Regions from separate parts of the Homo sapiens genome. Here region 2 is linked to region 1. Evidence: promoter capture Hi-C in 16 types of primary human blood cells and fetal thymus (Javierre and others, 2016). All regions are on one chromosome and are shown on one strand. Each heading gives the region's core, a stretch centred on a gene start or on the middle of the fragment in contact. The rest is flanking DNA. Distances are from core to core; before and after follow the strand shown.

Region 1 (4,099 bases), core at 928-3,427:
ACTTTGCTCTTTTCCTTCCATAGTATGTTGCTATTCTGTGTTTTTTTGCTAATCTGTATAAACTTTAGGATGAGTTTGTCAATATCCTCAAAATAACTTGCTGGGATTTTGATTGGGATTGCATTGAGTTAGTTTACAGATCAAATTGGGAAGAACTAACATCTTGTATTGTCTTTGCATCCATGACATGGAATATCTCTCCGTTTATTTGGTTTTTCCTTGATTTCTTTTGTCAGAATTTAAAAATTTTCCTCATAGAAATCTTGCACATATTTTGTTAGATTTATATGTACCTAAGTATTTTACTTTAAGGAGTGCTAATGTAAATGTTATTGTGTTTTTAATTTCAAATACCACTTGTTCATTGCTAGTGCATAGGAAAGCAATTGATATTATATATTAACCTCATATCCTACAATCTTGCTATAATCGCTTGTTGATTCCAGGAGTTTTTTTTAATTGATTCTTTTAGATTTTCTACATAGATGTTCATGTCATCTGTAAACATCTATGTATTTCTTCCTTTCCCTAATCATTTTAAAACTGAGTAGCATTCTATGAATTGAAAATGCAAATAATTTATTTAATCTCTCCGCATTGGTATGCACCTAAGCAGTTTCCTATTTTTCACTGTTCAGTATAGTGCACTGTACACACATGCATACACACATACCTCTTTGAACACATGTAGGACTATATCTGCAGAGAAGTTTCCCAAAGGAGAGATTGTTGAATCCAAGATACTGTATTTGTTAGGGTAGGCTAAGCTGCTACAAAAACAGATCTAAACATATAATGATTCAGTGTAATAGAAGAATGTTTCCCCATATGTAACTGTTTTGGGTAAATGTTAGAAGTGATCAGGCAGCTTTGCTCCACACTGTTTTTAACGGACCTAGACGCTTTCCATCTTGCAGTCCTGCCATCTCCTAAGACCTCATAACACTTGGCAGAAAGGGAAAGATAATGTAGAGAAGTCATTCCACTTTTCATAAAAGCCCAGGCCCAGAAATGGCATATATTACTTTATTTCACGTTGACCACCTCTGAATGCAAAGATATCTAGGAAGTGTTGGCTAGCCACATGCCCAAGCAAATAAGGAGAGAATGAATTTGAGGAGACAAATTGTAGTCTCTCCCTCAAGTATATAAATTTAAAATTTTGATAGGCACTGCCAAATTGCTCTCCTAGGAAATTGTACTAATTTACACTCCTACTAGTAGTCTATTGAATGATCCCTTACCTTATCCTCACCAATTCTGGCCATTTTCAGTGCGTGTATTTTTTTTTTCAAGCAATCTGAAAGAGAGGTATCTCATTTTTATTTTCATTTCTTTTATTGTGTTGAGATTGAGCAATTTTTCATATGCTAAAAGCTCTTGTTTTTCTTTGGTATATAACTGGTTCTAAATATGCTTTTTTTTTTTTTAAGTGAGCCTATTCTCTCCTCAGTTTTCAATGGACTCTGATAATTTTTATCACAAGTTCTCCATCATGTTTCGTTTCTTTTCTTTTTTTTTTTTTTTTTTTTTGAGACAGAGTCTCGCTTGTTGCCCAGACTGGAGTGCAATGGCGCGATCTTGGCTCCCTGCAACCTCCGCCTCCCGGGTTCAAGTGATTCTCATGCCTCAGCCTCCTGAGTAGCTTGGATTACTGGCACCCACCACCACGCCCTGCTAATTTTTTGTATTTTTAGTAGAGACGGAGTTCTCCGTGTTTCTCTTATAACAGTTTTGTTGGCTCTTTTTTTCGCTCTTGACTGTCATAATCAATTTACAAAATAATAAAAAAGAAGCCATAGAAGATTTTGGTTTGAATTGCATTAAATTTGTAGTCATATGTGGGGAAAAAAAATTTTCTTTCCCAAAAATGACCATTATTATATCAGGCAGCTATTGGTGTATAGCAAACAACCACAAATGTCAGGACATATAATAATAAGTATTCTTTACTCACATTTTTGTGGGTCATCGAGGGTCTGCTGATCTCAGGCAAGGCTTGGCTGGGGCCCTGCTTCAGTTCAGATGCAGCTGGGTGAATGTGGCACATCATTGCAGTTTGGACTCTTGTCACCTCCAATAGTGTTTCCCCCAGACTCACAACAAGTAGCAGCCACTACCCAGAGGAAATTCTTCTTGTACTGATAGCAAGTGCCAGAGAACAAGCAGAAGTATGCAGTGCCTCTAAAATTTAGGTTGATACACTGCTATTCCTGCCCACATTCCATTGGCCAATATAAGAAAAATGTCCAAGTCCCTAGTCAAGAAGCAGTAGGGTACACTCCAACTTTTGTAGTTAGTTACATGGCAGAAGACACGTACTCAGGGAGGGTTGAAAAACTGGAACCAGTAATTGTGATATGTACCACATCATCCATGATAAGAGAAGTCTGGGGCGTTACCTTTTTGGTTCAGTTCTTTTTAAAAATGTCCCTGAGTACAGTTTCATAGGAATTTTATAGCTTTTGCACATTTCTTAAGTTTATGCCTGTTATGTTTTTCTTTTTGGTTTTTGTTCCATTTATTAATAAGATTTTTTAATGTAATATTTTCTCATTTGTTTTTATCACGTAGGAATCTGTTGTTGTGAATAACATTAGTAGGTATTGTAATGTTTGACCCTGGTTTGCATTCCCGGAATTCCTGTAATAAGTCAGCCTGGTTAAGGTGAATTATTCTTTTACTATACTGTTGTATATAGTTAGCTAATATTTTATTTAGGATTGCCACAAGATTTAATGAGACTAGTATAATCTATTCATATCTTTTAAAAACATATTAAAAATTAAACTCCAGAGACTTTTACTTGTTTAAATAATAAAGTTGATAATTTTCACAAAGCAGATGACATTTTACTAGTGAAAATTACTTATTTGAACAGTGGAATAGTGAGGCAAGCAAACCAACTTTTCATGCCCTCGAATAAAAGAAAATATATAAATTTATTTTGACATTAACTAAATTGTTTTCCTGCAGGTTGCTGCTCCAAGATAGCCAAAATGTGGAAGCACTGAGAATGCAGGCACTCTACTATGTGTGTAGAGAGGGGGATATAGAGAAGGTAAGTGGCATTGTATTATTTAAGTTTCCTATATTAAAAAATATATTTCATTACACATACACACCCATGTGTGCATGTGCATATACATTAAAGCCTTGAAGTTCTCTTTTAAAATATACATCATGGTAGTTTTTAGTTGATTACTAGAGTATACCTTAACAAAGAGGTCAGCTTCTGAAATCTATTGGTAAAGCAAAAATACTATACAGTTAATATTACCCTTGAAAATCCCTTAAATCATTAATTATAGTATATATGGCTTTCTGTATGAAACTCCTGTGTAGTAATATATATGATTAATGTAACTAGATACGTAATGTAACTAGTGATACTAGATATGAGAAAGTATGTATGCAAAATGTAATTTATAGTATATTTACAATTTAACTGAATTTGCAAAAATTAAATGGGCTTGGGATAAAATCCCATTATACCTCATAATAAAGCACATCTGTTTCTGTAGTAGTGAACACATTGACTGTAGATTGGATCATGGAGTGCCAAACTCTAATCTGAAGGAAGTAATATTAGTATAACATGTAGTAGATTTGCATTTTGTTTAGTGTGGTTAAATTGGTTAATGTGACAGTGCCTGATAGATACTTCAGTAAATGCTAGGAGTATCTTAGTAGGGGTAAATCTTCAGTAAATTTTCCAGGCATTGAAATTACTTATACTAAGTACTGTAATGATTTTTCTAGTCTAGAATATATTTTGAATATAAACCAGTCTGTATAGGCAATTGAAGGGCTGACCTCATATACTTGTAAATACATTATCATTCGTATCTCATTTGTGTCATGAATTAACTATTGAAGGCGGAGCTGGGCATGTACAGTTAATGGAATATTATGGGTGTCTTCGCCTATCCAAAGGTTTCCATTCAATAACAAGTATTAAAGAAACACATTCTAAAACACATTTATAATTATTGAGTTTGTTAGAATCTTAAATATGTTTTATAACATATAATCATCCATTGAAGGAGGAGGAATTTATAAAAGCAAAGGTCTTTTAAAATACTAGTAGGGTAATGCT
Region 2 (4,099 bases), core at 644-3,143, 540 kb after region 1:
AATATTTGTGTACAGGATTATATTAGACATATGTTTCCATTTTTCTTGGGTGTATACCTAGGAGTAGAATTCCTGGGTCATAGGATAATTCTGTGTTAAACTTTTTGAGGAACTGTCAAAAAAGGGCAATCAGGTACATCAAAATATGGTTTTCTAAAATATTGGCAGGTTTGTCAAAAGGTGCTGGTTAGTATTGAAAAAAATGACAATAGTTATTAAACACAACTGTGGTTCTTTCTATGCCAATTCTTTATATAAAGCCTTTCTAGAAATGGGAATGAGGTGATAATCCCTCTTAACATCCTGAAGACTGGCTCCAATAGTATGCTATAAGATTTATCAAATTAAAAATATAGGTGCATGTATTTGTTTATATTAAGGTAGTGTTTGAGTTGTCTGCTATTGCATTTTACTTTTCTGGTAAATTTCTCTCCTTTTCTTGAATCCTGTGCATCATGAAGACCATGAAGCCTTTTCTTTCAAAGAATAGGAATTCAGATAAAAATTATATCAACAATAGAAAAACATCACTCACCTTCTAATTTGATATTTATAAATCCATAGTAATGTCAGATTTTTGCATATTAAGACCCAGAGTTCAAAGAATTGAACAAAGTATGGATCCCAGAATACAAAGAATAGTATATTATGTAAAGAAAATTCCTGCCTCAAAGGGAAGGAAAATAACTGTTGCTAGATGCTGGAAAGTAAGAGAAAAAAATTAAGAGTAAAGGATTATATATGAGTGATCTGATTTTCCTCCCTCATGATTAAAACTAGAACTGGGGGTGGTGCTGGTGGTAGACGTTCAAAGATAGAAACATTTAAGGGACTCACAAGCAGAGGGCACGTTCTTCCCTTTACAGAACATAGACCATGAAAATTGCAAGATGCTGAGGAATGACCCACATTTAGCATAGCCCTGGAGAGCCTTGGTGCCATCGTGCAGGTACAGGAGGAGGCTAAGAGCATGGCTACAATGCCACATGGTCTGCACCTAGCACAAAAGAGGATTCAGAATTTCTTTGGAGTTTTGGCATGGGGAGGGGTAGAAAGCAGGGTATGAAACTGCCCAAAAGACCAATAGATCAGAGACATCTGGAAGCAACATTTAGAGAAGGAATTTCCATCAAGAGACCACAGAGCCTCTGTTTCTGATAATTTTACCTGTAGCCAGGAAATGATTCCTGTTCATGACAAAGCAAATAAAAGTTGTCAAGCAGAGTTCATGGATCTCTATAAGTCAAATCCTCCTTTAATCCTGTTGTTTAGTTCTTATGGATTTTCTCATTAATTAATGAGTTAAATGAAATCTTTGACATGTGGTCATGTGTTCATTTTCATGAAAATTATGGTTTTGGGGGTTTCTTGAAATTCTTTTTACAGAAGACAATGACTGTCACCTCAAAATGCTAAAATAGAAAAAGTATCTTGGTACTCATGTCTGGTAAAAATATCTTTCAAAAGTGAAAATTAAAAAATTAGGGGACAAATTCAACTTGAGAGAGTCAGTAAGAGCAGACCCATAGTAAAGGAAATATTAAAAAGAATCTTTTTTTCAGGCAGAAGGGAAATAATCCATAGATTAGTAGAAAATACAGAAAAGAATAAAAAACTAAATATTTTGGGAAAACTAAGTGATATGGTTTGGCTCTGTATCCCAGCCCAAATTTCATCTTGAATTGTAAACCCCATGTTCAAGGGAGGGACCTGGTGGGAGGTGACTGGATCATGGGGGTGGTTCCCCCATGCTGTTCCAGTGATAGTGAGTGAGTTCTCACGAGAGCTGATGGTTTTGAAGTGTGGCACTTCCTCACACTCTCTCCCTCTCCTGCTGCCATATAAGGTGTGCCTTGCTTCCCTTTCACCTTCTACCATGATTGTAAGTTTCCTGAGCCCTCTCTACCCACTGGGAACTGTGAGTCAATTAAACCTCTTTCTGGCTGGGCATGGTGACTCACACCTGTAATCCCAGCACTTTGGGAGGCTGAGGTGGGCGGATCACTTGAGATCAGGAGTTCGAGGCCAGCCTGGGCAGCATGGTGAAATCCCATCTTTACTAAAAATACAAAAATTAGCCTGGTGTGGTGGTAGGAGTCTGTAGTCCCAGCTGCTTGGGAGGCTGAAGCAGTAGAAACACTTGAGCCTGGGAGGTGGAAGTTGCAGTGAGCCGAGAGTGGACCACTGCACTCCAGCCTGGGCAAAGGGCAAGACTCTGTCTGTAAAAACAAACAAACAACAAAAACTTCTTTCCTTTATAATTACCCAGTCTCAGGTAGTATCTTTATAGCAGTGTGAAAACATACTAATACACTAAGTAAGTGTTGACTTCATAAAAGTAATAATAATGTCTTCCAGAGTTAGACTACATGTAAAATGAAAATATATAATAATAGTACAAAAGATGAAATGGGGGAAATAGAATAAAAGTGTTCTCATGTCCTAGCAATGTCCAGAAAGTAGCGAAATACTAACTCATTTTGGAGTTTAAAAAGTTAATGTGGCAATTGCTTGGGTAACTATAAACAATATAGTAACAAAATGTATAAAACTGAATTATACAAATAATCCAAAAGAAGTCATAAAATTTAAATCCAAATGTGAGATGTGTGTGTGTGTGTGTGTGTGTGTGTGTGTGTGAGAGAGAGAGAGAGAAATATTGTTAGACTGGATATAAAATATAATTCATGAATATTCAATATTGAATAGGAGGTTACAGAAACATTTAAGGTAAAACAATGAAAGAGTATGTACCATGCAATCACCAACCCAGCCAAAGCCACTGTAGGCATAATAATAATCAGACAAAATGAACTTAGGGCAATCTTACTAGAAATTAACAGGACTGGTCCATAATGACAGTAGGGTCAATCTACTGGGAAAAAAATGTAGCAATTTAAATTTTAGGCACCTAATAAATATCAAATAACTACATAAAAATTAAAATATATAGCAAAAGTTAACAGAACTAAAATAAATAAATTTATAATCATATTGGAAAATTTTTGCACACCCCTTCTGGTAAAGGATAGTAAAAACAGCCAAAAGAAATGAAGATTTCTTTCAAATTCATGAATAAAATATATAGAATTTTGTACTTAACAACTGAAATGTACTTTATTTTCAACTACATATGAAATACATGACACATTTGATAGATGCTGAGCTACAAAGCATTTTCCCCCAAAAGTTAAATAATTAAGATTATACAAAGTATATTATCGATATTATCTGAATGTAGGAAATTAAATTAGAAATCTAAATAAATATATCTAGAAACTTTTTCAAGTATTTGGAAATTAAGCAGTTCTCTTCTAAGTTTCTAGTAAGATTTTTAAAAATCAAAATAGAGGTGAGAAAATATTTTAAACTGAATGTTAACAAAATGAAATATACTAAGATTTGTGGGATGCTAGTATAGCCATGCTTAGAGGGAAATTTATAGTCTTAAGTGCATTTACTAAAAAAAGAACAAAGGTTGAAATCAATGAATGAAATAGAGATTTTCAGAATTTAGAAAACAATAGTAAATTAAAACTAAAGAAATAAAAGAAAGAAAATTATAAATATAAAAGCAAATAAAAATAGGAAAGAACATACAGTACAGAATATTTTAAAAGGCAAAAGTTGGTTCCTTAAAAGACTAAATAAGTAAAGAAGAGAAATCACAAAATACCAATAACAGGAATCAAGATGGGTCACCACTAAAGATCCTATAGAGTTTTAAAAAACAATATCATCATAAACAATTTTACGTAAATAAACTTGAAATTTTATCAAATTACAGAGAGTGAAACAAGAAGAAACAGCAAATATGAATGGTCCTCTATCAGAGAAAATAAATACATAATTAAAAACCTGTACATAAAAACAATTCATGCTCAGATTTTACTAATTAATTATCCAAAGAATTAAGAAAAATATTAACACCAGTCTTAGTTATTCTCTACCAGAGAACAAGAACAAGAAAAGTCCTTTGCCTACTTGTTTTAAGAGGTTAGCATAATCTTGATTTCAAAACCTAACAAGCACATTAAAGTAAACAGATTACAAGCCAAACTCTTTCAGAAATATAGATGCAGGAATATAAAACAAAACA

Evidence for each region. The method cuts DNA at HindIII sites, captures the fragments that hold promoters and counts their contacts. A CHiCAGO score of 5 or more calls a contact.
Region 2: a fragment that was not itself captured here is called in contact with the fragment with the promoter of TTC21B-AS1 in region 1 in 5 of 17 cell types (total B cells, M2 macrophages, naive CD4 T cells and 2 more); the score reaches 7.8 in total B cells.

Annotation. Positions count from the first base shown.
Region 1 is chr2:165,931,935-165,936,033 of GRCh38, reverse strand. TTC21B-AS1 (TTC21B antisense RNA 1) reads right to left here and starts at 2,177. Exons shown (of 4, transcript NR_038984.1): 1 at 1,958-2,177. It overlaps TTC21B (tetratricopeptide repeat domain 21B), which reads left to right. Exons shown (of 29, transcript NM_024753.5): 7 at 2,977-3,061. The HindIII fragment of the contact is 5,075 bases long and covers 1-4,099 here.
Region 2 is chr2:165,396,595-165,400,693 of GRCh38, reverse strand. No RefSeq gene overlaps it. Among named protein-coding and RNA genes, the nearest start is that of CSRNP3, 71 kb to the left of the region's middle. The HindIII fragment of the contact is 5,097 bases long and covers 1-4,099 here.